2 separate regions of the Homo sapiens genome follow, and region 1 is linked to region 2. The links are contacts of gene promoters, found by promoter capture Hi-C in human tissues and cell types (Jung and others, 2019). All regions are on one chromosome and are shown on one strand. Each heading gives the region's core, a stretch centred on a gene start or on the middle of the fragment in contact. The rest is flanking DNA. Distances are from core to core; before and after follow the strand shown. Region 1 overlaps GRIK4 (glutamate ionotropic receptor kainate type subunit 4). Region 2 holds the start of ARHGEF12 (Rho guanine nucleotide exchange factor 12).

Evidence for each region. The method cuts DNA at HindIII sites, captures the fragments that hold promoters and counts their contacts. A contact is called where the count stands out against the background at its distance.
Region 1: a fragment that was not itself captured here is called in contact with the fragment with the promoter of ARHGEF12 in region 2 in 1 of the 25 tissues and cell types used here (lymphoblastoid cells).

Annotation. Positions count from the first base shown.
Region 1 is chr11:120,913,832-120,920,832 of GRCh38, reverse strand. The region is part of intron 13 of GRIK4 (glutamate ionotropic receptor kainate type subunit 4); the gene reads right to left. Among named protein-coding and RNA genes, the nearest start is that of TBCEL, 110 kb to the left of the region's middle. The HindIII fragment of the contact is 5,965 bases long and covers 1,194-7,001 here.
Region 2 is chr11:120,333,884-120,340,926 of GRCh38, reverse strand. ARHGEF12 (Rho guanine nucleotide exchange factor 12) reads right to left here and starts at 4,514. Exons shown (of 41, transcript NM_015313.3): 1 at 3,652-4,514. The coding sequence starts at 3,683. RefSeq lists a silencer at 4,058-4,927. The HindIII fragment of the contact is 7,839 bases long and covers 1-7,043 here.

The DNA.
Region 1 (7,001 bases), core at 2,927-5,426, 580 kb before region 2:
ATAGAGGAAATGTTTATGCTCATTGAAGATGTGAGCAAATGGTAGCCCATGAAGATTCAGATACTAATTTATGGTTCTGGGACAGACCCTGGCTTCCAACTCAAAATTATATTTCTCTAAGCCCAAGAGGACTAGTGGGTGCTCCACCACTGCCATTGCCTGGATACCTAATAAGAGGGGGCTCAGACACCCCCACCTCCTGGGGGGAATATGTGAGGGCAAGAAGAGAGTAGGTTGGAACAGCGCATATAACCTTGGAAGGCTGCTGGGCCTCTCCCCAGTAGGATCAAGACTGGACACATGTGCACTCTGTGTTGATGAATGACGCTGCTGTGGTCTGCATGGCAAGAGGAATGAACCCAGGCCGGCCTGGGAGAGGGAAGACTGGGGCCTGGATGAGCATGTCCCAGGGGAGCAGGCAGACATGCACGTAGATGGGCATGTGTTTGGGGACCGAGGTGGGTGAGGCTGAGGAGCTGAGCTCCAGGCCAGAAGAGGAGGTGAAAATACAGCCCTACGTGGGGAGGGAAGGAGAGGAGAGAGCGAACACTCACAGAGCGTCCACAAAGTGCAGGCACGCTACAGGAATTATATTCCATTTATTTCTCATAGTAATCCAGGGGTGGGTACTATTATTTTCATTTTGAGGGTGAAGACACCAGGGTTGAGAAACGTTGGGAGACTTGTCCAAGTCCACACAGCTCATAGCTGGCAGAGCAGCGATTTGTACCTAGGTGTCCAGTCGGGATGGAAGGCAGTGTGAGGACAGGGGTGGGCACATTCCTCCCATTTTACTACCACCTGTATGCTGACAACTTCCAAATGGGGTTCAGGCCCAGTGCTGCCTCTTGCCAGCCTTCCTCACTCCCCCTACCTACTGACTTCCTATACCCATGTCTAATTCCTTATCTCTGCCGTCTAAAGCTACTCTTTCCCTGTGTGCCATTAATGACTTCCCCATCCGTCATCCCAGAGACCATGAATCAGCCTGGAGTCTTCCCTCTCCCTCCCTTCCCTGTTGTCTCCCCATTCAATAACCAGGCCCCATCCCTTTTACCTCTGAAACGCCTGTTGAATCCATCACCACCACTTGACTCTCACTGCCCCTACCATCATTAAAGCCTTCCTTTGAATTATTCAGTAGCTTCTGCACTGGTCTCTTTGCTTCCAGTTCTTTCCCACGCCATCCATCCACTCAGCTGAGACTCAAGCAGCATTGGGAATCAGTGGTTCTCAAACCTAAGCTCGAATCAGCACCACCTGGAGGGCCTGTTAAGTTGCAAATTGTTGAGTCCCACCCCAGAGTTTCAGGTTAAGTAGGTCTAGATGGGGCCCCAGAATTGGGATTCTGACAAGTCCCAGGTGTTGCTGATGCTACTCGTTCAAGGACAATACTTTGAGAACCGCTGCTCTAAAGTTTACACCAAAGATCTAATATTACTCATCTTCTTTAAAAACTCCAGTTACTCTCCACTCTCTTTAAAATGGAGTCCCAGCTCCTTCCCATGGTCTAAGTGATTGTCACCACCCAGCTGAGGCTTGCCTCTTCAGCATCACCTTAAGCTGCTGACCTCTCTTCAGCCTGCGATGTGGACACAATGCACTCTTCATGTTCCTTAAACTTGGCATACATTTCAGACCTCACACCGTTCCCTCTGCCGGCAACTCTCTCCTCCTTGTCGCCTGTCAAATTCCTACTTGTCTATCAAGGTCTGACTTGACGGCACTTCCCTGAGAGGCATTGCAGTGGTTAGAATGACCGTGGGCTTTGATGTCAGACAGGTTTGGCTTTGAATTCCAGATCAATCACTTGTTAGCTGTGTGACCCTGATTTGGCCTTCTCTGTTAAGCCAAAGTCAACCTTGGCATCTTGGTTATGAAATATGAATAATAATATTTATCACGTAAGATTGTTATGTGGAGAGGAAATGATGCATGATAAATGCCTGGCAGGTAGTAGGTATTCAATAAACACTGGCGACAATTCTCATTAGCTCTGCTCTGAAGCCTTGCCTGGCTTCCTCCGGCTGAAATGCTTCCCTCCTTCTCTGTGCTCCCATACCATTTTGCGTAGGATTCCCTTTTGTATATATCACATGCTAACGTCTCAAACTAACTTATACACCGGGTCTCATTCCCAGTACAGTTGGGGACGTTGTATGAATTATAAAGATTGGCCCTCTGAGCAGACTTAGTGGGCACATGCCTTGGCAAGCTAAAGGCATTTTTGTAGGAAAAAAATCGACAAGTAGATACCCCCCCATCCCAGAGCACGTGTTTGGTGAGCAGAGTGAGGGCTGGGTTTCACACCCCATTCCTCCTTCACCATGTCTTAACCTGCACAAACCATACATGGAGGTCCTATGTATACAGGATGTGAACTCTATGAAAGTAAAAACTGTGTGAACTCTATGAAAGTAAAAGCTGAAGGCACAACCAATATGGAATCAATGCATCTAGAGGCAGGCACCACTGGCTGAGGATGGTAAGTACATCAGAATGGGTCAATAGGGTTGTCACCCCGGGTTCAGGAATAGGATTCTTACTCCTGAGGGGAAGGGGAGTGAGAGAACCAGTTTGGCAAGCTCAGAGACTTAGGCTTGGGGAATCATCAGAAGCTGGATTTCTCAGTCTGGGTGGGAAGGAGAGCAAGGCAGAGGAGGCTTGGTCCCTGCGTGCTGAACTGGAGCTCCTGAAAGCCTCCCTGGTCTCAGACCAGAGTCTGGTGTCTGGCCAAGCCCACAGGTAACATCCTCATCTCTGCTGTGTGGCTGGGGAATCGAGACTAGAGAATTCTTAGAAGACATTAAGATCACATTGTCTGTAGCTTCCTTTCCTGTCTCTGACCCAAATCAATTCCCTACCACCTGTCTCTTCTGCTTAGCAGCAAGCTGATCTCTTAGAAGGCTTTCAGATGCCTTAATTAATACATTTTCATTTCCTTTGCAGACCCTTCACTCCCCTTAACAGCTGGCGCTCAGTGGGGAAGGTGGAAATAATTCCCAAGAACTGATAAGTTTCCCAGGCTGCTTTGAGATGCCCAATGGGGTTTGAAGGAGCTCCCAGTAGGAAGCTGCTAAGGGAGCACTGAACCTAACTGAACTCCAAACCCTTCCAGATCCCCCCGGGCAACTCCTTCCATGGAAAATAACCAGCACAGGGATCTGAGGATGGGCGGGGAAAATTCTGAAGTCTGTTTCAAATCTGTGGCTGACTGTCTCTGGGCCTGGAGACTGCTCTCCCAGAGACAGGGATTTAAGCAGCGCACCTGCACGGGTGACGCTCCGATGTCATTCCTTAGTCCTGCCCTGCTCGGGGCTCCCAGCCATGTACTCACACCTACACTTTATTATCTTACATGCCTGTGCCCCCCTTGCCTTTTACCGCCCGGTCTGTAAGCTTTCAGAGACAGAACCAAACCTGATCTGTTCCTTTACCCCACACCCCAGCACAGTGACTGGCACATAGGTGTTAAATCACTGTCTGCTGATTGATTCATAAATGGAAAGCCTGGCTTTCTTTTCTTTTCTTTCTTTTTTCTTTCTTTCTTTCTTTCTTTCTTTTTTTTTTTTTTTTTTTTTTTTTGAGACGGAGTTTCGCTCTTGTTACCCAGGCTGGAGTGCAATGGCATGATCTCAGCTCACGGCAACCTCCGCCTCCCGGGTTCAAGCAATTCTCCTGCCTCAGCCTCCTGAGTAGCTGGGATTAGAGGCATGCGCCACCATGCCCAGCTAATTTTTGTATTTTTTATCAGAGACGAGGTTTCTCCATGTTGGCCAGTCTGGTCTCGAACTCCTGACCTCAGGTGATCCGCTCGCCTCGGCCTCCCAAAGTGCTGGGATTACAGGCGTGAGCCACCACACCTGGCCGGAAAGCCTGGCTTTCTAAGCCTTGGGTTGATGCAAACCTGCTGAAGGAAGCACTCCCTAGGGGAATGCAAGCGCCCCTTATCTGAAATGCTTGAGACCAGAAGTGTTTCGAATTTCCGACTTTTTCAGATTTTGGAATATTTTCATAAACATAATGAGGTATCTTGGGAATGAGACTCAAGTCTAAACACGAAGTTCATTTCTGTTTCATAGACACCTTAGACACGTAGCCTGAAGGTAATTTCATACAATATTTTAAATAATTTTGTTCATGAAACAAAGTTTTGACTGTTTTTGACTACGACCCTTCATGAGGATAGGTGTGGAATTTTCCACTTGCGGTATCACATCGAAGCTCAACAAGTTTCAGACATTGGAGCATTTCAGATTTTGGATTTTCAGACTAGAGATTCCTAGTATTACCTATGTTACCACTTCACCGTGTTTCAGGCACTGTGTTAGGTGCATAAGGATGTCAAGATGCATAAGACATTGTACTTTCCTTCAAAGAGTTGCCAGTCTTACTTCCACTAGGAATCCATCCTGGTTGTCCCGATTCAGAAGTCATTTCTGCCCCTACCTTCCTAGTCATTTACGATGTACTTTGCTATGTCTAATACAGCACTTATCCTGTATGACCTCATTAAAATAACTTCTGCTCGCATCTGTCTGCCTTTTTAGCTGAAAGGCTCCTAGAGGAAAAGGACCTGACTTCAACTCCTAGCACTCCTGGGCGTTAGCTTCTTGGGGCTCTGTTTTCTTAGTCTGAAAAACGAGGTGGTCATAAGAAGTCCAGTTTCCAGATAAGAGGGTTGAGGACAGAAGTGTCAGCCAAATGTCCCTGTCAAACTGGCCACTCAGAGCCACCTCCTTGTTTACCATTCTCCTGGGCCAACTTATTCCTTCCTCCTCATTCTTCTAGGAGGCTGATGCAGAGAACAAGACGATGCCACCCAAGTCATCCTTTGTTCCAGACACCAGTTCTCACATGCCCCTTTGGTGCAGTGAGAAGAGCCCAAGATTGGGGTCTGAGTCTGGGCTCTGGCCACTTGCTGTGTGTCTGAGCTTGGATTAATTATGGAACTCTCCAAGCCTCTGTGCCCTCATCTGTGGAACAGAGTAATAATTCCTGTCTCATGGGTCATGTAAGGATCAAATTAACTCATGAGTGTAGAGCTTCTACATGGTGTCTGGCCTTGTCAGGAGTTATAGCACCCTGCTTCTACTCCCTTCCCTCCTGGTGGCTCGGCTTTGAACTAGGAAGACATGTGAGCAAGGGTCTGGAGCACATGAGATCCCCATTCAGACCCCCTATAAGCCAAGGGAAGCCAGAGGACAGGGCAAATCAGAAAGCCACAGCAGAGCCCTCCACCGAGCGCAGGTAGGGCATTGGCTGGGCTCGCACGGTTGGCAGCTGCGGCTCCAGAGGCCCAGCGGCAATCTTCTGGGGTGTGCGCACCTCACTCCTGAATGGAGGAGAGGGAGGCCATCAGAGGGAGAGAGGGAGATGAGATGGGAGAGCCCAGCCGCAGCCTGGCAGCCGATACAGACATCTCAGAAGAAAAAAAGGGCGGCTGCAGTCACGAAACTGCCATTATTGCCCTTTTCTCAGGTGAGTGAAAGGACTCCTACTGACAGAAAAGAACCTTTTGGGAACTCACAATGAAGCAGAGTGTTGTGGAGAGAGTGCATGAACATGTTTGTGGCTAAGGTGCAGTCCAGCGCGCTGGCCCCTTTATTTTCAAGTACACCTGTCTGTGAATAATGAGCTGGAGAAGATGGATTTCCTCCCTTCCCAGGTCTCAGTGGGTTGCATGCAGGGATCGCTATGTGGCATGCATCTCTCAAGGAGCCATTGTAGAAAGGACCTTCCCAGGGTCAAACAGCCAATCCCTTCTCCCCTGAGAAGCAGGACGACCTTAACCCATGCTTGAAGGTCTACAGGAAAGGGGAGCTCCCTGCACTCACTGGGTCCCAGACTCAAATGCTGAAGTCCCCACACAGCCATAATCCTCTCTTGGGCATCCTCACAGTCACTGCTTAATTCAGACCCCATTCCATTCTCCTGATCACTGGACAGCTGTCTAATGAGTAAACCTGCATCTGGTCTTCCCACCTCCAATCCGTCCCCCTCTCATCTGCTAGAGTAACCTTCTGGAACCAAAGGCAATTATGCCACTCCCCTCTTTGAATAAAACAAACAAACCACCTGCTCTTAGACAGCTCCCACTAGCGCTCTGGACATAGTTTATAAAGATCCAAACACATAAACCCTATCACGACTGGCCCCTGCCTACAGCCCTGTTCTCCTCCACCCCCTCTCATGCTTGGCTCCAGTTGTCCAGAACCAACGGCACTGCAGTGTACATTTCTCACCGTCCACCTCACCTAGAATATAATATCCTTTTCTGCCAAGGCGATCCTTCTTGATCCTCAGTGCTCTGCTCACTCGTCATTTCCTTGGTGAGCTCTTCCCTACTCCTGTACCACACCTCGCTCAACTTCTGTCAAAGCCACCCCTGCCACTCACTACTCATGGGACTTTGAGCAGGTTCCTTAACTGTTTTGCCACCTCACCTGCCACATTCAGTTATTGTGAGGCTTGAGTTAATACAGTCAAGTGCTCAGAACAGTGCCTGGCCCATAGGAAGCACTTCATACCTGTCAGCTGCTGTTATTACCATCATTATAACTATTATTAATATAGCATGTGTCACACTGTACAGTAATTCTTGGTTTACCTGTCCGTCTCTTTGAGTAGATCCTGAACTCCTTACAGGCAATTCCTCATATCCAAGCGGTGCTTGTCAGACAGCACGCACTTTGATGAATGAATGAATGGTTGAATTATAACAGAAGCTCATCTCTTTCAGATTTGCATAAATGCAGAAACTAAGCCTTAATGGGGAAGGTAAAGCAAAGCCCTCGCTGAGCTCGGCTGTCACACGGGGAAGGAGTGGAACACTCCACTTTGGCCCCTGGATCAGTATCTTTATTTTAAAGAATGCTGAATAGAATTCTGTGACCTATTTGTAGTTAAAATAGTCTCTGGCTTCAAGGTGAAAAGTAATCTCAGGGGACCACTTGTATTTTTTTTTTTTTTTTTTAGTTCAGCAAAATGTCTCCGGACAA
Region 2 (7,043 bases), core at 3,265-5,764:
ATGTACCATTAATCAGGAAGACTACAACACTGTACTTTCAAAAAAAGTTACTTTAGATTCTGCATGTTGACTCATGTAAAACTGTACAAGTGAATGTACTATTGCATACCTTTATGACTCAAGATTTTATACTGAACTAAAAAGGCAAAGATAAAACTGAATACAAAACTAACACTGTGATCTTTGGCCCCCATTTCAATTTTGTATTTATGGACTGGCTGACTTTACAAGAAAAGGTTACAAATAATTTCACCTTGCCGAGAGATGACTCATGCAACGTTGAAAATAACATATAAACATGAGTAGCTCTTTTTTTTTTAATCAAAACCATTATACAGCAATTTTGACAGAAAAAGTATCACTAATGAAAAGTATCATTAATTACTGGGTACAGGCATATAAAGTCACAGGTTTCCACACTCACTTTAAAAATCTGCTTAAGTTAAACAGCTCAAAGCTGAATTCAGTGCTTTAAAAAAATTGTATCAAAAACCTGTCTTTATCTATAAATCAAAAACTACAAAATTCATAAGCCCTAGCCAAAACAAAAGTCCATTTATTTCAAGGAAGAACCCTATAACTTTCCTACCTGTACTGTCCCTGAAAATTCAATGTTATAGACACTGGCCTGAAATCATTTACTGAGTCTACTAAAAGGGCATTCTCTCCTGTCTACCTCTCAGAAGAAATTCCAATTGCTATAGGACCCCTAAATTCTCAGGGATACAAGAAAGACATGTAGGAGGATTGGAAACGATTAGGATGTATTTTAAGACTGAATGCAGCAATCAATGCAGACTAAAAAGCAGCAATCAGACATTTCTACACTTGTCAAGTGCTCATTCTAAACGATGAAAACTACAGACTCCAGGGCTCATAAATTGCTTACCATTTTTTTTAAAGCTGTTTGGATATACTACATAGAAGTAATAGCTACCATGAACATAGTTTGAGTTTAAAGTCTTTTAAAAAGTTTGAGTTTTAGGTTTTAAGGGGTGCGGACTGGGGAGTAAAAGATGAAGGGAAAGAGAAGAGAGCAAGTTAATGTGTTGATTTAACTGCAAAATAATAACAGGATGTAACAGAGTTCTGAGTATCCAAAGTGACCAATCAGAGCCTAAACATAGCTGAATTCCATCCCAGCCCCAGCACGTCCCTAACACAAGAATAAAACCCTTATCTTGTTCAGCCATGTGTCGCCTGCCACAAACTGCAAAACAGAACAACGCCCAAAACCAGCTAGTCTGATTTCAACTGAGGACAGACAGACTCTGTAGTCAGAAGCACCACAATGAAAGAACTCTAACTCACACAGCTGGCCTGGTGGTTCTGCACACTCTACGAAACAAAGCCATACCACATACAGCACTTCAAACTTGAAAGGATCTCTATCTAAAAAGCTACACTGGTGCTGTTAATTTTCCAACAGTTCTAGAGTCAGCAAAATATACCTACAGTAAGAGTTAGACACTACGAAAAAAGGATGAGGTAGGGCTGACAGAAAGCTAGAAACTATTATATACTCGTAACTTTGTTAAGACACCTTGGCAGAGAAATAATACTAAACCAGTACCTCCAGATTTCACCCCAACATATATTCATATTAGGAACAACTACTCTCTTAACAGCAAATGGATGCTTTATATTTACAAAATATATTTAAATGTGGTCAAATAAGAATAATTCTTAATAAAAAAAGACCCTAGTAAAAAAAAATCCTACGAAACAGGTCTCAGCAGTGCTTATTAATTGGCTTTCCAAGGTCTTTTCTTTAAAAAAAAAAAATGTAAAATTAGGCAGCAGCACCTGAACCAGTTCAAAAAACATTAATGCCCAAACCAATTTGCAGATTAATCTTACAATATTCATTTTGTAATCTCTTGTGCCTGCACAGTGCCTGGCCAAAAAAAAAAAAAAAAAAGAAAAAGAAAAGAAACAGGCTTTCAGTAATTTCATATTTATTGAATGTTTATATGCCATCTACGTTATAAAGAGGATACAAATTCCAAGATTCTATTTCCAAGATAACGAGAAGACAAGGAAAATCCCTGAGAAGCAATGCTGAAGAAAAACCATTACTTGAGGGCTTTTCACTCACTTGTGTGTGGAATGAGTCCGTTCTGTTTCCATAAATTAAACACCTCAGCATCGCAATGAAAACCAACATTACATTAGTTCCTAGCAAGACTTTTGTTTACAGGCTCAACAGAAAGAGCGAGAATTGAATGAAGCAGGAAAACAATTATCCCCACACCCGTAAAAGTGATTTCTCAGAAGCAAAACACCCTGAAAGGAAAAAAATGGGGATAACCAGAAGAAAGTAAGATAAGCATTGTCAATACTTATCTTAAGTGTATTCTTGGAAAAGTTAAAAATTATTTCATTGAAAATGAAAACCCACTTTGAAAAATACACAAAGAGTAAATATAAATACTTTAAATATTTAACAGACTCTTTTAAGTGAACATTCATGTGATGCTGGAAAGCATCAACAGGAAGAGGAAGTTCTGTTTCTGGAGTAGCTGTTATGGTATGATAATGGAATTTGGCCCTTTTAAAATCAACAAATGAGTCTTACAATTGGGTAAAACTCTTATTAGGAAATTAAGACTACTTTGTGCAGAAGCACTATTGTTGCACTTTTCATCAAAGAGCTTTGGCCCTCTAATTCAGTTACTTGATCTATTTTTTCACGGTGTAATAATTCGAAGACTGACTTAAAAATAAAGCAAGCTGACAAATTTGGGACTAGCATGCAGTGTCATAATTAAATTGAGAATGAAATGTGGTCAAGGAATCAATATGCTTTTTATCCCTTACCCTATAAACAAGAGTAACTTAGGATAAGCAAACTGCACTTCAACCACACATGGTCTAGCTCAATTCGCCACCCACCACCATGCAACACTGGTAGGTGCTATAAAGGACAGACACAGAACTCAACAAATTCAGCTGCGCGCTTACACTATGCTTACGGCTTATATCTCTTAAACGCCAAGTGTTTCTGGAAGACGAAATATTTAAATACAAGAATTAAAAGCAAACCCCATGATTTACCCTCATTTCTTCAGCTCCTGGACATTGCTTCCAGCAAGAACCTGTGATTTACTGGTAATGTCAACATTCTGGAAAGTTATTAGATAATAATTAAACACCGTGCAGGTCAACATCTGAAAGAGATCAAGTTCCCAGATCACCATGCAGTAGGCTCAACATTAAGTTCACAGGTAGAAATTCCTAAAATGTAATTGTCTTGAGAATCTACTGCAGGACACGGCTAAAGCTGATAAATAATACACCAATACCGAGCCGACTTCAGGCACCGACCTTCACCTAAAATGACCTTCTCCTCTGATTTCCAGACGAGTACACAATCCTAATGCACACTACAGGCGGAAAACCACAATCATGGTTTTGCCTCCCCCTTCTCTGAGAATCGGAAGGGAAGTTTCTCTCCGGAAAAATTACATTTCCAAAAGCCAATCAACTGGATAACTCGGCAGCAACCCCAGGCTAACTGCACAGCTCCGAAACAACCCTCTTTCCTCTGCCTGTCAACTTCGCTGGCCAAAGGCAATCTGCAATCACCGACTCCCCTGCTAGGTCGGGCCCGATTCCGGGAGGCCGAACGAAGGAGGAATTCATACCAACCTGTCGGTGATAGTAGACTGTGTGCCACTCATTGGGGCCCTTGGCGAGAGGTCCTCCTTTTATCCAACTTGCATTTTACAGTAACACCTCCTCCCCACCCCCAGTGCTCTGGGATCAGGCCCAACTCCGTCAGGGACACAAAAGTCCAACTCAAAACTCCATTCAGTCATCTAGACCATCCGACTGTAAGGGGTCAACGGATGCGGCTTGGAGCAAAACAAGTTATCTCCCAAAACGAACTGAGAAAGCCAGGGAGCGAGTCAGTCCAGAGTGAGTCGAGCTAGAGAGAAATCCTCCAGAAGGCACAAGGATAAACTTCCTCAGAGAGGGAAATCCGCGCGCAGTGGGAAGGGGACCCGGGACTCCCGCCGGGGCTGGGGCGGGATCAGCTCACGGACGGGTGTCGGCTCCTCCTCCGGAGTCTCGGGGCCTCGAACTCCCCGCCGCGGCAAGGGCCGGGGCCCTCCCTCCCGGCTCTCTATCTGGGGCTGCCGGCTGCTCGTGGCCGCAGCGTTGGCCGCGTCTCCGGCCGTCCCGCGCCGGGCTCGCGCGATTCCATGTCCCGGGCCCGGGGCTCCTTCTGTGCTCGCCGCCCTCACCAGGCTCCCGGTGCTGGGACGAGCCGCTGGCGCCGGCGGAGAGGTCCCGCGGCCCGAGGTGACAGGGACCCGGGTCTCTCAGCGCCGCGGACTGCTCCCCATCCCTTTGAGGCCCGGACTCTTCCGCAATCGCCAGAGGCGGCGGCTCCTCCCCGACGCTCCCCGCGAGGGGCGGGAGATGCCCGTCCGGCCCGGCCTGGAAGCCCTGGTCCGGGAGGCGGAGGCGGCGGCGTCTCCCGGCGCAGGGCCGGCTCGCCGGGTTCTGGAGGCCCTCGCGGGCGCGCGCGCAGACAGCGGAGGAGGCCGGCGGCCGTGGGGGCCGCGCAACCGCGGGCGCGCGCGCGGGTTCCGGTTCCGGTTCTGGTTTCCCGGCCCTGGCCGCGTCCGGCGCGAGCTCGCGCTTCCCGTCCCCCGCCGACTTTATGGCCCCCTCCCCTCTGACTTCGGGAAGCCGCCTCACCCGGGATCCCTCCGCCGCTCAGGGCCGCGCTCTCGCCCTTGAACGGACGCCTCCGCCGGAGCCCGGTTTGGGAGAGCGGCAAAGTAGTCCTACGGGGCAGAGGGAGGTGGGACCCGTGCAGCCCCGGGAGGCCCACCCACCTCCCGCGGCGCCTGGGCCCCTGAGTGCCGAGACATGCCCCTTCGAGTCCAGTTTGTACTAAGTCGACTTTCACCAGAGACCGCCCGAGAGCGCCCCCCAGATCCCGAGGACATCGTGCCGGGAGGCTCTTTGAAAATTACCAGCCCCCCTTGTCCTGGAAACTTTTATTACTTAAGGGAATGTATTATCTCTCCTGTCTTCTGGCTGCACGCGTTCTGCCGGTTCCCGGCCGGCGCCCCTCGCTGCCTCCGCAGGCCCCGCTCACCTGGGCACCTGCCGGCTCCGGGGGGAGAGCGCTGCATGAGCCGGAGGCGCAGGGCTGCGGGAGAGCAGCTGGGGACTGCAGCCAGGGTTTCTCGGTATAAATATTACTTTTAGGCTGTTTCTGCCTTGGCAAAATGAAATGTGTTATTTGCCAAATTGATAAAGCATGGTGCTTTCCATGGCGACTTAACAAGCGTGTTGTGGAAAGAACTGGGAGAAGAAAATGAAGTATATTTATCCAGTAAATAGCATTACGGTTCTCTCTGAAGGATTCCCAAACGGTTTTTCGGTTTTTTCCCCTACTGGGTAGAGAGCTTTAGATACCCATCTAGTTTTATGATTGAATAATTCAGTATTTTGGCAATTTAGGTACCACATGTAATACAGTTCTTCAGTTCTGCCTGCAAACATCCAAAGTGGCTATTCCCTTTATCCAACTATTTTCAGACTTTTGAGCTTAAACCTATGTTGGTGACAAGGGATTTCAGCCATTTTGTGGAATCCAAGTAGCAAATCAAATCTAATAAACAGTGGATGTGGAGAGAGGAAACAATTACCTCTTAACAATGCTGTTGCAAAAAGTCATTCCGCAACAGTTCATGAAAGGATCATTATCCCCGAATAGAGGCATGAGCTCACGCTGACGTTAGTTAGAACGGGGGGGAAAAAAAGGAAAAGATAAACAGAGACCAGAGACGACTCTTTATTGCTCGATTTTTTAGGTTCAAGGCACAGCCAACTAATTTTGTAATGTTTATTTTTGGAAAGAATAGAAGCAGATTAGCCAAGGCACTTCCCTAATGATGAGACCAGGACACATTGCCACCTGCTGGTGTATTCTAGCATGACAATTCTACCCTGAAGACTCTTAAATTGAGTGTTTACATGCAACCGGAAGGAATCCCATTCATATATATATATATATATATATATATATATATATATATACACACACACACACATATACACATATACACACATATATACATATATACACATATATATACATATATATACACATATATATACACACATATATACATATATATACTGACCAAAATGCAAACCTTATCCCCAAACTTAATAAATCTTTCTTAAAAGTACTAAATATCTTATTTTCCCCTATCCTAATAATGTTACAGTGTAAGTATAAAATTAATTGAACCCAATGACTCATCAAATCATGCATTTTGGAGTTCCTCTCTTCCCTTAATACTTGAGGGAAGCCTCAATACTTAAGCTTCAGGAATAAAACAAACTGGGAAAGTTTCCTAATTCACCTTCTCTTCCTTGCATACAAAACCTCTTGGCAAGCTGCTTTCAAGATCTTTCCAAACTTAAACAGACCCACGGTTCTAGCTGTGAGCAAAGAAGGCATTTTGCTGTGGGAAAGCTTCAGAAGATGGTAAGCAAAAGATTGAATTAAGCCAGTGGTTATTCATTCCAGAACTAATTTTTTTAAATGATGAAAATCTCTATAGTCACCTACAAAGCATTAATGATTTAAAAAAAAAAAAAACTGAAAGCCTCTTTAAAGCTGCCGATAGCTCAACTGTTCTAAAGGCTGTAACTATAGGATGCCTTCAGAAAGTCAAGCCAGTCTGGGTAGAACACACTCCTCAGGGTCCGTAGTACTTTACTTAGAAAAATGACATTGATGACCCAATCCACTGGGAAAACCTTTGAGGAGGTTTTCCAATGGGGATGATTCTAAACCACATTCTCATCCTCTTGTCCATTCTTTCAACATGCTTACTAAGTATCTACTATGCATCCCAGACTGTTTTAGGCATTGGTAGTACAGTCCTCAAGACAGGGCCTCCAGCTGTCTTCAGATGATGTCTCTGATGTCAACTCACTTGACATCAACATTTTCAAGACAAGTGTCCAAACAGGTGGCAGAACAAGAAACACATTAAGGTTCTTCC